Linked DNA regions of Homo sapiens: regions 1 and 3 are each linked to region 2. The links are contacts of gene promoters, found by promoter capture Hi-C in human tissues and cell types (Jung and others, 2019). All regions are on one chromosome and are shown on one strand. Each heading gives the region's core, a stretch centred on a gene start or on the middle of the fragment in contact. The rest is flanking DNA. Distances are from core to core; before and after follow the strand shown.

The links. The method cuts DNA at HindIII sites, captures the fragments that hold promoters and counts their contacts. A contact is called where the count stands out against the background at its distance.
Region 1: a contact is called between a fragment that was not itself captured here and the fragment with the promoter of CCT8L2 in region 2, in 9 of the 25 tissues and cell types used here (H1 embryonic stem cells, bladder, dorsolateral prefrontal cortex and 6 more).
Region 3: a contact is called between a fragment that was not itself captured here and the fragment with the promoter of CCT8L2 in region 2, in 6 of the 25 tissues and cell types used here (dorsolateral prefrontal cortex, heart left ventricle, lymphoblastoid cells and 3 more).

The regions. Positions count from the first base shown.
Region 1 is chr22:16,654,332-16,659,047 of GRCh38, forward strand. It overlaps the pseudogene PARP4P3 and the pseudogene ANKRD62P1-PARP4P3. Among named protein-coding and RNA genes, the nearest start is that of CCT8L2, 64 kb to the left of the region's middle. RefSeq lists a silencer at 2,794-2,994. The HindIII fragment of the contact is 4,221 bases long and covers 1-3,485 here.
Region 2 is chr22:16,590,403-16,594,538 of GRCh38, forward strand. CCT8L2 (chaperonin containing TCP1 subunit 8 like 2) reads right to left here and starts at 2,408. Exons shown (of 1, transcript NM_014406.5): 1 at 349-2,408. The coding sequence starts at 2,148. The coding sequence ends at 475. The HindIII fragment of the contact is 16,456 bases long and covers 1-4,136 here.
Region 3 is chr22:16,628,937-16,633,195 of GRCh38, forward strand. It overlaps the pseudogene TPTEP1. Among named protein-coding and RNA genes, the nearest start is that of CCT8L2, 38 kb to the left of the region's middle. The HindIII fragment of the contact is 8,238 bases long and covers 1-4,259 here.

The sequences.
Region 1 (4,716 bases), core at 125-2,624, 63 kb after region 2:
CAGGACAGCTCAGGTTCCAGCCTCTCTACAGTTGTTTGTGGTTGTCCCCTTTCCAAGCTTCTCAGTCTAAATCCTATCCATTCTTCATGCACAAACTCAAGTAGTATTTCACAAACGAGGCTTCTGTTTCTCTCTCCTTCCCACTGTACTGACTTGATTAGGTCCCTTCAGAATATCTGACAGTCCCCCATGAAACTGGCATCTGTTCAGCTGTGTCACATAAACCAGGAACAACTTGGTAGAATAAGCTTATCGAGTCAAGTGTGTGTCCACTGAATGGTGTCAAATATTTGAGACTGTTGAATATTCAAGTCTATTCAACACTCAGAAAAATTCTGGGGTTGTTCATTAATATTAATTAGCTACTTCCTCATTTGTTCTGTCATCTGTTAGAACTTGTTAGTGAACAAGTGGCAACATACACCAAAGTTCTTCAGAAAATTCTATGGGAAAACCTAATATTTTGAAAATTCTCTCCCTGTTCCTCATTTCTCCCTGTGAACTGGGAAAGGGCCATCAGTATAGCATGATGGTGAAGAGCTGGGTTTGAGTCCTGACTCTGCAATCACATGATACTGGCCATGTGATACTGTGTGGCTTTCATTCAACACTGGGAATCTCAGTTTCCTCAATTGTGAGAATAACATGAGGTCCCATGGGTTTGTGGTGGAAATCAACAAAGCTTATAAATTTAACGTGCATACTAATCCCTGGTACACAGTGGGCACTCAATAAATGTTCACTGAATGTCATGATAGAATGAACATACTAAATAAGAACCATGCCCGAAGTTTAAAAGACCGACATTTCCTGGTAAATGTTCGTCTACTGACAGTTACTGACTGCTGAAAACAACAAAACTGGCTTTGAATATTTTCACTAATTCAGCCGGCCTCCTTTAGCCCTGTGGCCTCTACACTTTTTGGTTCACATTCCACTAGTAAGAAAACCTTGTGCCTACACCCCCAGGTAATGTACTCCTGCATCAATGTTACGTACATCCCGAAATAGAAAATACAGAAAAAAGTTTCAAACATGCAATAAACAGGAAATAAAAAATATTTAATTTTTTTTTTTTTGAGACAAGAGTCTCGCTTTGTTGCCAGGCTGGAGTGCAGGAGCACAATCTCAGCTCACTGCAAGCTTGTGATCCGCCCGCCTCAGCCTTCCAAAGTGCTGGGATTATAGGCGTGAGCCACCGCGCCTGGCCTAACATCGTATTGTCTTATGTACTCAAGTGCCAGCAAACCATTTTGCTAGCACCATAGCAGTAATGTAGTAAGAGCTATATGCTGCAATATACTTGATCAGTTCTGAACATCTTGCTTTAATACTTTGTGGTATTACAGTTCAAAAGCACGTTCAAAGTTTATACTTGTTCTAACAGCTATAATATTACTAATTAGGAACAATATAAATAGAATAATTACCTCTTTGGATGTGCCTATTAAGTCAAATACTAATTTTTTAGTCCCATCTCCTAGCTGTTCAAAGTGTTTTTTCTTTGATATTTATTTAATTAATTCTCTTGGCAAGTGGCACTGGTTTATTTTCACTTGAGGCCAGGAGTTTGAGACCAGCCTGGCCACCATGGCGAAACCTCATCTCTACTAAAAATATAAAAATTAGCTGGGCACGGTGGTGCGCACCTGTAATCCCAGCTACTTGGAAGGCTGAGGCACGAGAATTGCTGATCTTAAACTCCTGGACTTGGTCTTGCTGGGCTCAAGTGATCAACCTGGGAGGCAGAGGTTGCAGTGAGCCGAGATTATGCCACTGCACTCCAGCCTGGGCAACAGAATGAGACCCTGCCTCAGTAAATAAATAAATAAATAAATAAATAAATAAATAAATAAATAAATACAAAAAAAAAAGAAAACCCCCCAAATAGAAAAAAGAATAAATTCTCATCTTTCTTGGCAAACTAATGAGAAGGTATTGCTTTTCAAAAAATGGAAGTATAAATTACATATAGTAAATTATGATTCTTTTTTTTTTTTAGACAGGGTCTAGCTTTGTTGCCCCGGCTGGAGTGCAGTGGCATGATCACAACTCACTGCAGCCTTGGCCTCCTGGGCTCAAGCAATCCCCCCCCCTCCCCCAGCTTCTTGAGTAGTCACACACTACAACACTCAGGTAATTCTTAATTTTTTTGTAGAGACAGGGTCTTGCTATGTGGTCAAGGCTGGTCTTGAACTCCTGGAAGCAAGCAATCCTCCTGCCTTGGCCTCCCAAAGTGCTGGGATTCCAGGTGTGAGCCACTGTGCCCAGCAATGCCTGGGTAATTTAAAAAAGTTTTTTTGTAGAGATGGGGGTCTCATTGGTTACCTAGGCTGGTCTTAAACTCCTGGGCTTGATCTTGCTGGGCTCAACTGGTCCTCCTGTCTCAGCCTCCCAAAGTGCATGGATTACAGGCATGAGCCAATGTGCCTAGTCCAGAAATTCCTGAACACCTGTTTTGTGTTCAAGAACTTTTTCTTAATCGTTACACTTAAAAAATAGTTATCAGGCCAGGCGCAGTGGCTCATGCCTGTAATCCTGGCACTTTGGGAGGCCGAGGCGAGCGGATCACGAGGTCAGGCGATCGAGACCATCCTGGCTAACACGGTGAAACCCCGTCTCTACTAAAAATATAAAAAAATTAGGCATGGTGGCGGGTGCCTGTAGTCCCGGCTACTTGGGAGGCTAAGGCAGGAGAATGGTGTGAACCCGGGAGGCAGAGCTTGCAGTGAGCCAAAACTGCACCACTGCACTCCAGCCTGGGTATCAAAGCGAGACTCCATCTCAAAAAAAAAAAAAATAGTTATCAATATTTCTTTAAATATCATAAAATATCCAGGTAGTGTTTTAATTTTCCCTGTCTCATTTTTTAAAATGCAGTGGGTTTTGTTCAAACTAGGATCTAAACAAGGTCTACTCTTGCTTTTGGTTGACATGTCTCTAAAGGTTTATTTATAGGTTCGCTCCTCAACCCTTTTTTTCTCTTGCCATTTATTTCCCCACATTCCAGACTTTGCTGACTGCATTTGCATGGTGTCACATAACATGTTCCTCTAATCTAATTCAAGTTTAGAAATCAAGGGTTTTCATTTAACTTGTTTGATTTTATACATATTAGTTTCTAACAATATTAGTATCTACCTTCCAAAATAACAAATCAAAAGTGTTATTAACACCATGGCTACTCCCAGTGAGATTTCTTTGTAATATTTTTTAATCCTTAGGCACTATCCCACTAGGGGATTTGACATAATTTGACACAGTCAAATTATTTACTATGTTTTAAAGTCATCTTAAATTAATTCCCAGGCTGGGCATGGTGGCTCACGTCTGTAATCCTAGCACTTTGGGAGGCTGAGGCAGGAGGATTGCTTGAGTTCAGGAGTTCGAGACCAGCCTGGGTAACATGGTGAAGCCCTGTCTTTACAAAAAATACAAAAATTAGCAGGGCATGGTGGTGCATGCCTGTAGTCCCAGTTACTTAGGAGGCCAAGGTGGGAGGATGGCTTGAGCCCAGGAGGCGGAGGTTGCAGTGAGCTGAGATTGCACCACTGCACTCCAGCCTGGGTGATACAGCCAGACTTTGTCTCAACAAATAAATAAATATCAATCTTATCCATTATTACATAAAATATTTACATAGTTCCAAAGTCAAAACTGCAAAACAAATCACACTAGGAGAAACCTAGCTTCCATCCTTGTCCTCTCTACCAAACCTCCCTTGCAACAGTATTTTTATTAGTTTGATTAGTTTTCCCCTTATCTTGCCTTTAAATGAACATAAGCCAATTACATGTGTATGTATATGTGTATATGTGTATGTATGTGCATATGTGTATGTATATATATATCTACATGTGTATGTATGTATGTGCATATGTGTATGTATATACTTATATATACATGTGTATGTATGTGCATGTGTGTATATACTTATACATACATGTGTATATGTGTATGCATGTGCATATGTGTATGTGTATGCATGTGCATATGTGTATGTGTATATGTGTATGCATGTGCATGTGTATGTATATGTGTATGTATGTGCATATGTGTATGTATATATCTACATGTGTATGTATGTGCATGTGTATGTATATAGTTATGTATACATGTGTATGTGTGTATGTATGTGCATATGTGTATGTATATACTTATATATATGTGTGTATATGTGTATGCATGTGCACATGTATGTGTATGCATGTATGTGTATGCATGTGCATATGTGTATGTATATGTGTATATGTGTATGTATGTGCATATGTGTATGCATATACATATACATATATACGTATGTCAGAGGGATCCTACTCTGGTCATGCCCCTCTCGCCATGGGGTGGAGGGTCTGTAGGGACAAGAGAATGTGCCCACCCCGGAACCCACATCCTCCTTTTTAGACCCTGCAACTCTAGCGTTCCTGACCACATGGCCCTGAGTCCACTTCCAGGGTCTTCCCTGGTCTGTCATCCTGAGTTTGAACAGTGCTGCCATCTCACTGGTGCTGCAAGGTGGCTGGGGTGAGGGGGCACTGGCATGGGGTCTGGATGGCATTTTGATGGGTGGGGTGGGGTATTCATGTGTGCAGGCAAGGCCTCTTAGGGTGCTAGGGGTCAGCCAAGGGCTGAATTTGAACCTGGCCTTCCAGGTGGTTATGAAGTTGTATTTGCCAAGGGAGGAGATTAGGACACACTTCTTAATCTAATAGTTTG
Region 2 (4,136 bases), core at 1,158-3,657:
CAAGAACTGGCTGGGCACAGTGGCTCTCGCCTGTAATCCCAGCACTTTGGGAGGCTGAGGCGGGAGGATCATGAGGTCAGGAGTTCGAGACCAGCCTGGTCAATATGGTGAAACCCCGTCTCTACTAAAAATACAAAAAATAGCTGGGCGTGGTGGCGCGCACCTGTAGTCCCAGCTATTCAGGAGGCTGAGGCAGGAAAATCGCTTGAACCTGGGAGGCGGAGGTTGCAGTGAGCCAAGATCACGCCACTGCACACCAGCCTGGGCAACAGAGCAAGACTCCGTCTCTCAAAAAAAAAAAACAAAAAAAGTCGAGAACTGGAAAGGAACTAAGCGCATGAAAAGAAATTTTATGTTCCTTCATGTTTTTATTTAAAGAAAGTGAATCAAGTACCAAACACGGAATAAAGGCAAACATTCATTTTTGGGGTGATTGTTCCCTTCTTGGCAATCCCTGTTTTATTGAGGGTATCACTAGTTATTCAATCCAAGGATTTTTTTTGTTTCCACAGGAGGTGGGTGTTTCTTTGTCTTCTTAGAGTCAGGATTCCAGATCTCCTGATGTGTGGGACTTTTCTTGGCCACTACGATTTCATCTACAGTCACGAGCTGTAGCACCACCTCAGCCACTGCTCGAAATCCTTGGGCTTTGACTATTAGGGTGTCCCACACCCCTTCCTGGGCCACATTTATTATCCCTTCAGTTCCCACACCCATTAGGAGGTTCCCACCTTGGTGCACTCCACTCATTTCTGCCATCACGTCTGAGACAGCTAAGCCTGCATTCTCTGCCAAAGTTTTAGGAAGATACTTCAGGGCCCAGGCAAATGCTAGGAATGCAGGCCCACTGGGCCCTTCCAATCTGCTTCCTTTATCAGAAAGCATTTTTGCCAAAGCCATTTCTGTGGCCCCAGCTCCTGGAATCAGTCTGGGATCTTGACATAGCTGGAAATAGGCATCAATGCCGTGGTAGACGGCCTGCTCTGCACTCCGCAGCCCCTGGGTGGTGGCTCCCCTGAGAACCACAGTGAGGGCAGGTGTGCCTGTACATTCCCATTCAAATACCACAGCCAAACCATCTCCCAGCTCCTGCCTGTAAACCCTCTGGCACTTGCCTGGCCTCTGGGGAGGGAGCAGACGAGGCAGCAGAGGTGTGTCCAACACCTCACTCAGGTAAATGATCTCCATCCAAGACCTAGCTTGAATCACCACGATGCCATACTTGTCCGCCAGTGTGAGGGTCTCCTCGTCGACCTCCCCCAACACCACTGCCACATTAATTCCTGCAGCTGCTAGCTGGCCTACTTGCTTTTCTAGTAATTGATCGCTTCCTTTACTAAATTGAGCTAGATCAGCAGGACTAGAAAGACGGGCCGTTGCTGGTGCATTTGGATGGGCAGGACCAAAGGGGCAAGCAAAGAGAGCCACCCTGGCACCACTTAACACTGTGGCCATTTGCCCACAGAGCTTCCCAGATATTGCTAACCCCGGGAGGAGGCAGGAATCCTCCAGTGTCCCCCCGGGCAGCGCGCACACCCCAACACGCTCAGGCTTGAAGCTGCCGTCTAGTTCCTTGATAGCCCAGCAGGCGTGGGCCACCAGCTTGGTCAAGTGGTCCATGGGGGACAGGGTGTGGGTATTCATCACAGAATGGAGGGCCCAGGATGGATCTTCCAAAGGCCCCAGAGATTGGATGGCCAGGGAGGGCAGTGTGGCCAGGACCTCTGCAGTGGCCGTGGCGTAGGCCTCCCGGAGCTGCGGGCGAGGCAGGCCAGCCTTCAGCAGCTGCTCTGCCTGTTCCAGCAAGGCTTCCGTCAGCAGAACCACGAAGGCTGTGCCGTCCCCACTATTCTCTGCCTGGGTTTGTCCTGCTTCCCGGAGGAGCCATGCTGCTGGGTGCTCCAGCTCCAGGGCCCTGAGGATGGCAGTGGCACACCCCGTGCACACTGTTTCTCCTTTCATGGTCACCAGGAACTTCTGCCGGCCGTGGGGGCCATAGCAAGGCCGGATGACACTGGCCAGGGTCTGGACTGCAGCCAAGCTGCTCAGCAGGTGGGGCTCCTCCTCTTCTGGACTCCTCGGGCTCTCCCTTGGGTTCAGTGCCAGCCGCTGGGGCAGCTCCAGGGCTGAAGGGACTGTGCTGTCCATGGCCCGCAGAGAGAGGAGAGGCCACCGTGGGTTGCAGAGATGCTCTAGAAACAGCAGCTGGGGCACTCCTGACACCGATCGTTGAAAGTACTCAAGAGGTCAGTGGAAGCAAGGAGCCAAATGCCCATTGATTGGTATCTGAAGACATCAGCACGGACCAGCACTCCACTGTGGGTCCAAGGATGAGCTCCAAAGAGCCCAGTCCTAAAGCCACCCCAGGGTTGATTCTGTAAAGGAACTGGGTCTTGGGGCCTCTCAACCTTGGTGGCTGAAATGGGATCTTTAACTGATGAAGTCACAAAGTGGAAAATGGAACCAGGATAGAGAATGAGGTCACAGAAGGCTGGTTAGAACTGAGGAGGCCCTACCAGCAGGCAAAAGTCAGGCCTTGTCCAGCAATGGAGGTACATGCACCTCTGCACCAGGTTTGAGACTTGTTTAAACGTAAGAGACAATGAGGAGGAGATCAAGTGAAAAACTACCCATTTCACCCTATCTGGAGTGCAGGGGCATAACCATGGTTCACTGCAGGCCCAGCTCCCTGGTCTCAAGCAGTCCTCCTGCTCAGGTTCCCAAGTACCTGGGACTACAGGCACACACCACCACACCTAGCTAGTTTTTTTATTTTTTGTAGAGACAGTGTTTCTGTCTGTTGTCCAGGCAGGTCTCGAATTCCTAGCCTCAAGAGAGCCTTCCACCTTGGCCTCCCAAAGTGCTAGGACTACAGGTGTGAGCCACCACCTCACCCACCCTTTTTTTTTTTTTTTTTTTGAGACAGAGTCACACTCTGTTGCCCAGGCTGGAGTGCAGTGGTACAATCTTAGCTCACTGCAACCTCCACCTCCCAGGTTCAAGCAGTTCTCCTGCCTCAGCCTCTCAGTAGCTGGGATTACAGGTGCCAGCCACCACGCCCGGCTAATTTTTTATATTTTTAGTAGAGATAGGGGGATTTCACCATGTTGGCCATGGTTGGCCAGGTTAGTCTCAAACTCCTGGCCTCAAGTGATCCGCCCACCTCGGCCTCCAAAAGTGCTGGGATTACAGGTGTGAGCCACTGCACCTGGCCTTTTTTTTTTATTTGAGAAGGAACTGAGAGATGATGTCTGTGTTTTGTTTTGTTTTGGTGTTACTTTCTCTTGCAGTACTGTGTAATATTAGCCATGTTTTGCTGTCTGCCTTTGACTTTTTGGGTATCTTATCAGTTTGTGCTTGTGTATCAGGTTTCTTAGGGTGTCTGTTGGTCTTTCAGGGTGCAGGTGTGGGAGGCTGCACAGCGTGCATGCCTGTGCCACGACTCCCAACTCTGCCTCCCTGGCAGAGGCAGGGCAAGACAAGTGGGGAAGGATGCTGACAGCTCACAGACAAATAGAAGTGAACCCAGAGGGGTGAAAAGCAACCAGCCTCCCAGCGGTCAGGGAGGTAGAAGCCTAAATGGGGTCCTGAGATTTAAATGCGAATCGCCTTCCCATCCTAACCTTCAATGCTTACAATTTAAGTCTCTTTTTTTCATTCTCTCTCCTTTCCTCACTTGTCTCCTCTTTCCTCCTATAGAGCCTACTCGGGTAATGATGCTTCTGCTTTAGTTTAACACATATTTAGTCTGGGCGTGGTGGCTCATGCATGTAATCCCTGCACGTTGGGAGGCTGAGGCGGGAGGATTGCTTAAGCTCAGGAGGTTGAGGCTTCAGTGAGCCATGATTGCACCACTGCATTCCAGCTAGGGCAACAGAGTGAGACTTGTCTCAAAAAAAATAGGGGAAAGGTCATTTGGAATCCTAGTCCAGAGATAACCATTGTTTACAACTTGATGAACATTACTACTTTGCACATATTATATGCATACATAATTATAGATTTACACCATTTTACATAAGATTATGATACATATATGCTATTCTGTGATCATTTCCCCCTCAACATTATCTTGGCTCAGAGAAATGTTTCTTTTTTTGTTTGGACATGGAGTTTCGGAGTTTCGCTCTTGTCGC
Region 3 (4,259 bases), core at 146-2,645, 38 kb after region 2:
GTATTCCTCAGATATCTAATCATGTTGGTTTGTGAACTCAGATTTTTTGTGGCTATTGGCTACTCTGTCTTGTCATTTGTATTGGGGAAGGACTGAAGGACAATCTCAGTCTGCTGCTGTTCTTACAACATAATTATTAATAGCACCCACTTTTTCCTTTCAAAAGTGTCCTGGTTTGGGCAGGAATTATATAGTCAGTCGCACTGAAATCTAGGACGTAAGCTGTGTCATTGTCAGTAAGTTTAAAATGAAGAGAAGTGATGTGCCCCAGGGTAGAGAGTCTCAGGAACCATGAAACACTGACCAGGCAACTCCTGTGGGTTGTGAAAAGGAAAAACTTTAGACAAGGTAAATTTAAGAGTTTAATAGTGCAAGAATGATTTGTTAGTTGGGAAGCTTTTAGAACGAGAACAAGTTCTGAGAACTGCAAGCTGGCAATGTGGCCAGACAGCATTATGGACAGAAAATGGAAATGAGGTCCAGAAACAGCTTTGTTGTTTACAACTGATTACAGCTGGATGTTTTGTCTTATTTGAATCAGTCAGCCACCCGCAATTGACTGAAGCTCAGCCGCTCTAATTGACTGAGACACAGCTGTCTGTTACAAGTGTATATTCTATTCATAATTATGCTGTTAGTTTACACACTAGGTTAGCTTGCAGTTTGTTGCATAAGGACTCAAGTACAGAGGCAACCTCAGGGAAAATTTCGTTTAATTAAACAACTATATCACCTTGAAGCTCCTGAACAAAGCAGCATTGGAGGAGACAATCTCTCTGGTTTGTAACCTGGGCTTTGGAGATGGAGGCAGGTGGAGGAGTGAAGGCCCAAGGATGGCTCTTCAGCCCTTCCCTGTTTTCATCAGCCAGCCTAATGCTCTCCTAATTTTACTGTAACTACTTCTAGGTAGTTGCTGTTGTTGTCTATGGAGACAGGCAGGGATGGTCACTATTGTTTCCAAATGGCTAAATTGCATGTGTTGTGTTTTGTTTTTTTAGAACAGCTAGTTTATTAGTTGTAGGGTTATTGTAGCTAATTTGAATAAAAATTAAGCCTACAAATTCACATGGTATTTGATTATGTACAATTTAGTTTAATTCTTTAGCTCTGACCCAAATGAACTGATATCACTAGCCCATGATGGAGTCCTCAGTGAAAGTGAAATGATATCACTAGCCTATAATGGAGTCATCAGTGAAAGGTGTTGTGTGTGTGTGTATGTTCATAAAGATACACGCAAATGTTAACTATAGAGTTTCTTGGACACTGTTTCTAAAGTACTGGTAGTTTCAGCTTCTGTATGTAACATCCTTTTCTTTTTGTGTCTACTTGGATACAAGATAAATAGATCACAAGAAGTCTACTTCTTCTTCCTAGCTGAGTTGACTCGTAGCCAAAACTTTTAGAAAACTGTTAGATTGCCTGTGTATGAGATTCTACCAGGTTGGGCTATATTAGTTTCTAGGGCTGCTTTAACAAAGTATCACAAACCAAGTGGCTTAAACAAAAATTAATGATCTCATAGTCCTAGAGACTAGAAATCTGAAATTGAGGTTGTCAGTAGGGTTGGTTTTTTATGAAGGCTATAAGGAAGAATCTGATACCTCTTTGCTAGCTTTTGCTGGTTGCTGGCAATCTTTGGCATTCCTTGGCAGGTAGACTCATGTCTAGAGTAACTGCAGCTATTTGACCAAAAGTGTAAGTCCAATTATGTTTGTATCTGAATAATATGCTTTTATAATTCCTCAGCCCACAGCCAATTGAGTTGATGGTAGTAACCTATGATAGAGCCACCCATGAAATGTGAATTAAAAACAAAGATTTATATACACGTAGGTATATATATACATATATACACATAACATACACGCATGCATACACATACACAGAAACATAAAACAAAGAGAAAGAGAAGTTGATATTTGTAAAATTCACTGTCAGGCATATCCTTGGAAATACAGAGTATCTTTGACACTATGTCTAAATCTTCTTACTGTAGGATCTATAGATAACCTTCTTTTTTTTTTTTTTTTTTTTTTTTCAGACCAAATTGGATAAAAGAGGATGAAGTCATGAAAGGGATGTTTCTTCCTCTTAGTATATTTGTCACTCTAAGTTAGTAGTATGCAATCCCTTAGGAACCTCTGAGGTTTTCCATTTATGAGACTCTCCTACTACTAGAGTGGGCCAAAGGGAGAGAGAATCCTATTTGGAGCAATGGGGAGGTAACAGGTGACAGGGAGGAGTGAAGCACTCAGCAAAAAGAACAGGGTTCATGAAACCGTAATGGGTTCCTCACCCTCTAGTGTTCTACCACCATGTGAGGCTGGTGCCCCAAACCAAACCCAAACCCACAATCATTTTGTAGGGAGTTCCTGACTCAGGCCTACAGCTACATGGTCATATCTTCTGGGCAGGAAAGACAGCCATGATGGGTGAAAGTAAAGAAGTGACGGACTTAGGAATCAAGAATTTAGATGGGGTAAGAGGCATGTTTCCTTACAGACTGCAGTTACGTTAGAAATAAATGCCACTGGCCAGGCATGGTGGCTCATATCTGTAATCCCAGCACTTTGGGAGGCCAAGACGGCTAGATCACTTGAGGCCAGGAATTTGAGACCAGCCTGACCAACATGGCAAAACCCTGTCTCTACTGAAAATACAAAAATTAGCCAGGTATGGTGGTGCATGCCTGTAATCCCATCTACTCAGGAGGCTGAGGAAGGAGAATTGCTTGAACCTGGGAGGCGGAGGTTGCAGTGAGCCAAGATGGCAACACTGCACTCCAGCCTTGGTGAGAGTGAGACTCCGCCTAAAAAAAAGGATACACCTAGTTCGAATTAGTGATATACACATGAATATTTAAATATCAACCAGATAGTACATTATAGAGTAACTGTAGCTGTTTGATCCAAAAAGTAAGTTTAGAATTACATGTGTGTCCAACTATCTGCTTTTATATTCCTTTAGCCTGCATACAGAATTGACATCAATGACCTATGATAGAACCACCAATGAAATGTGAATTATAAAATATATATTCACAAATATTTAAAGAAATATATATGCAGATATACATACTTCTGTCTATCTAGACACACAAACACAGGGAGAGAGAGAAAGGGAGAGAAAGAGAAAGAAACAACAGAGAGAAAGATGAAGATTATGTGCTTACTCTCAGGATCATCCATGTCCATACAGAATGTCTTTTACACTGTTTATAAACCTCCTCACTATAGGCCCTGCAGGCCCCTTATTCAACTTTTTGATTAAATTGGATAAAAAAGGAACAGGGCAAAAGGAAACTTCTTGTTATTGTCTTGTCACCCTTAGTAGCAGGCACATACTTAGGAAAGTCAGATTTCCTGTGTATGAGACATACTAGAGTGGACCAAGGGAAGAAAACCCTATGCAGAGCAACAAGCGAGTAGCAGTGGACAGGGAGCAGTGGGGCCCTCGGGGAAAAAACAGAGCTAATGGCCCTGGCAGGGTTCCTCACACCCAGAGCTCTACCACCATGTGAAGCTAACACTGCAAGCCCACACCCATCATCACATTGTATGGGGCAGTTTCTTGACCCTGTGTGAGAGCAGAGAAGACACCTATAATGGCAAAAACAAGGCACTCATGAAGGGATTTTAGTGTCAGGAAATGAGATGAGGTCAAGGGGATTTGTATATAGAAACTGCAGCTGAATTTGAAATAAAGTAAACCACCAAATGCTTAGTTTGTGCTTCATTCAATTGTAAAGAACTAAACATCGTTTGTGAGTAATTCAAACCGGAAAGTGAAGTGTAGGATGTCATATTGGTGTTGGACGATACATATATATATTTAAATTCTGTAGCACTGCCAAGTCTGAATTCAAATCAGTACCCTGGAATGGAGCTATCAGTGAACTGTGAGACAGAAATAAATCAATATAGAGGCTGGGCACGGTGGCTCACGCCTGTAATCTCTTGACCTCATGATCCACCCACCTTGGCCACCCAAAGTGCTGGGATTACAGGCGTGAGCCACCGCACCTGGGCTCTATCTCTTTATTTTTGAATTGTCATTTAAATTTAGTTTTTGTCTGTCGTGTATAGCATGTAATGCCTTTAATTTCAAAGTTATCTGAGAGTATTTCTCAATATGCAATATGAGAGTAATATGTTTGTATTTATGATTTCTGGTATGTTTGGTTTTATTTATCATCTTTTTCTTTATTAAAAATACTTTGATATTTTCTTTGTAAATTTGTCTGTATTTTGCTATTA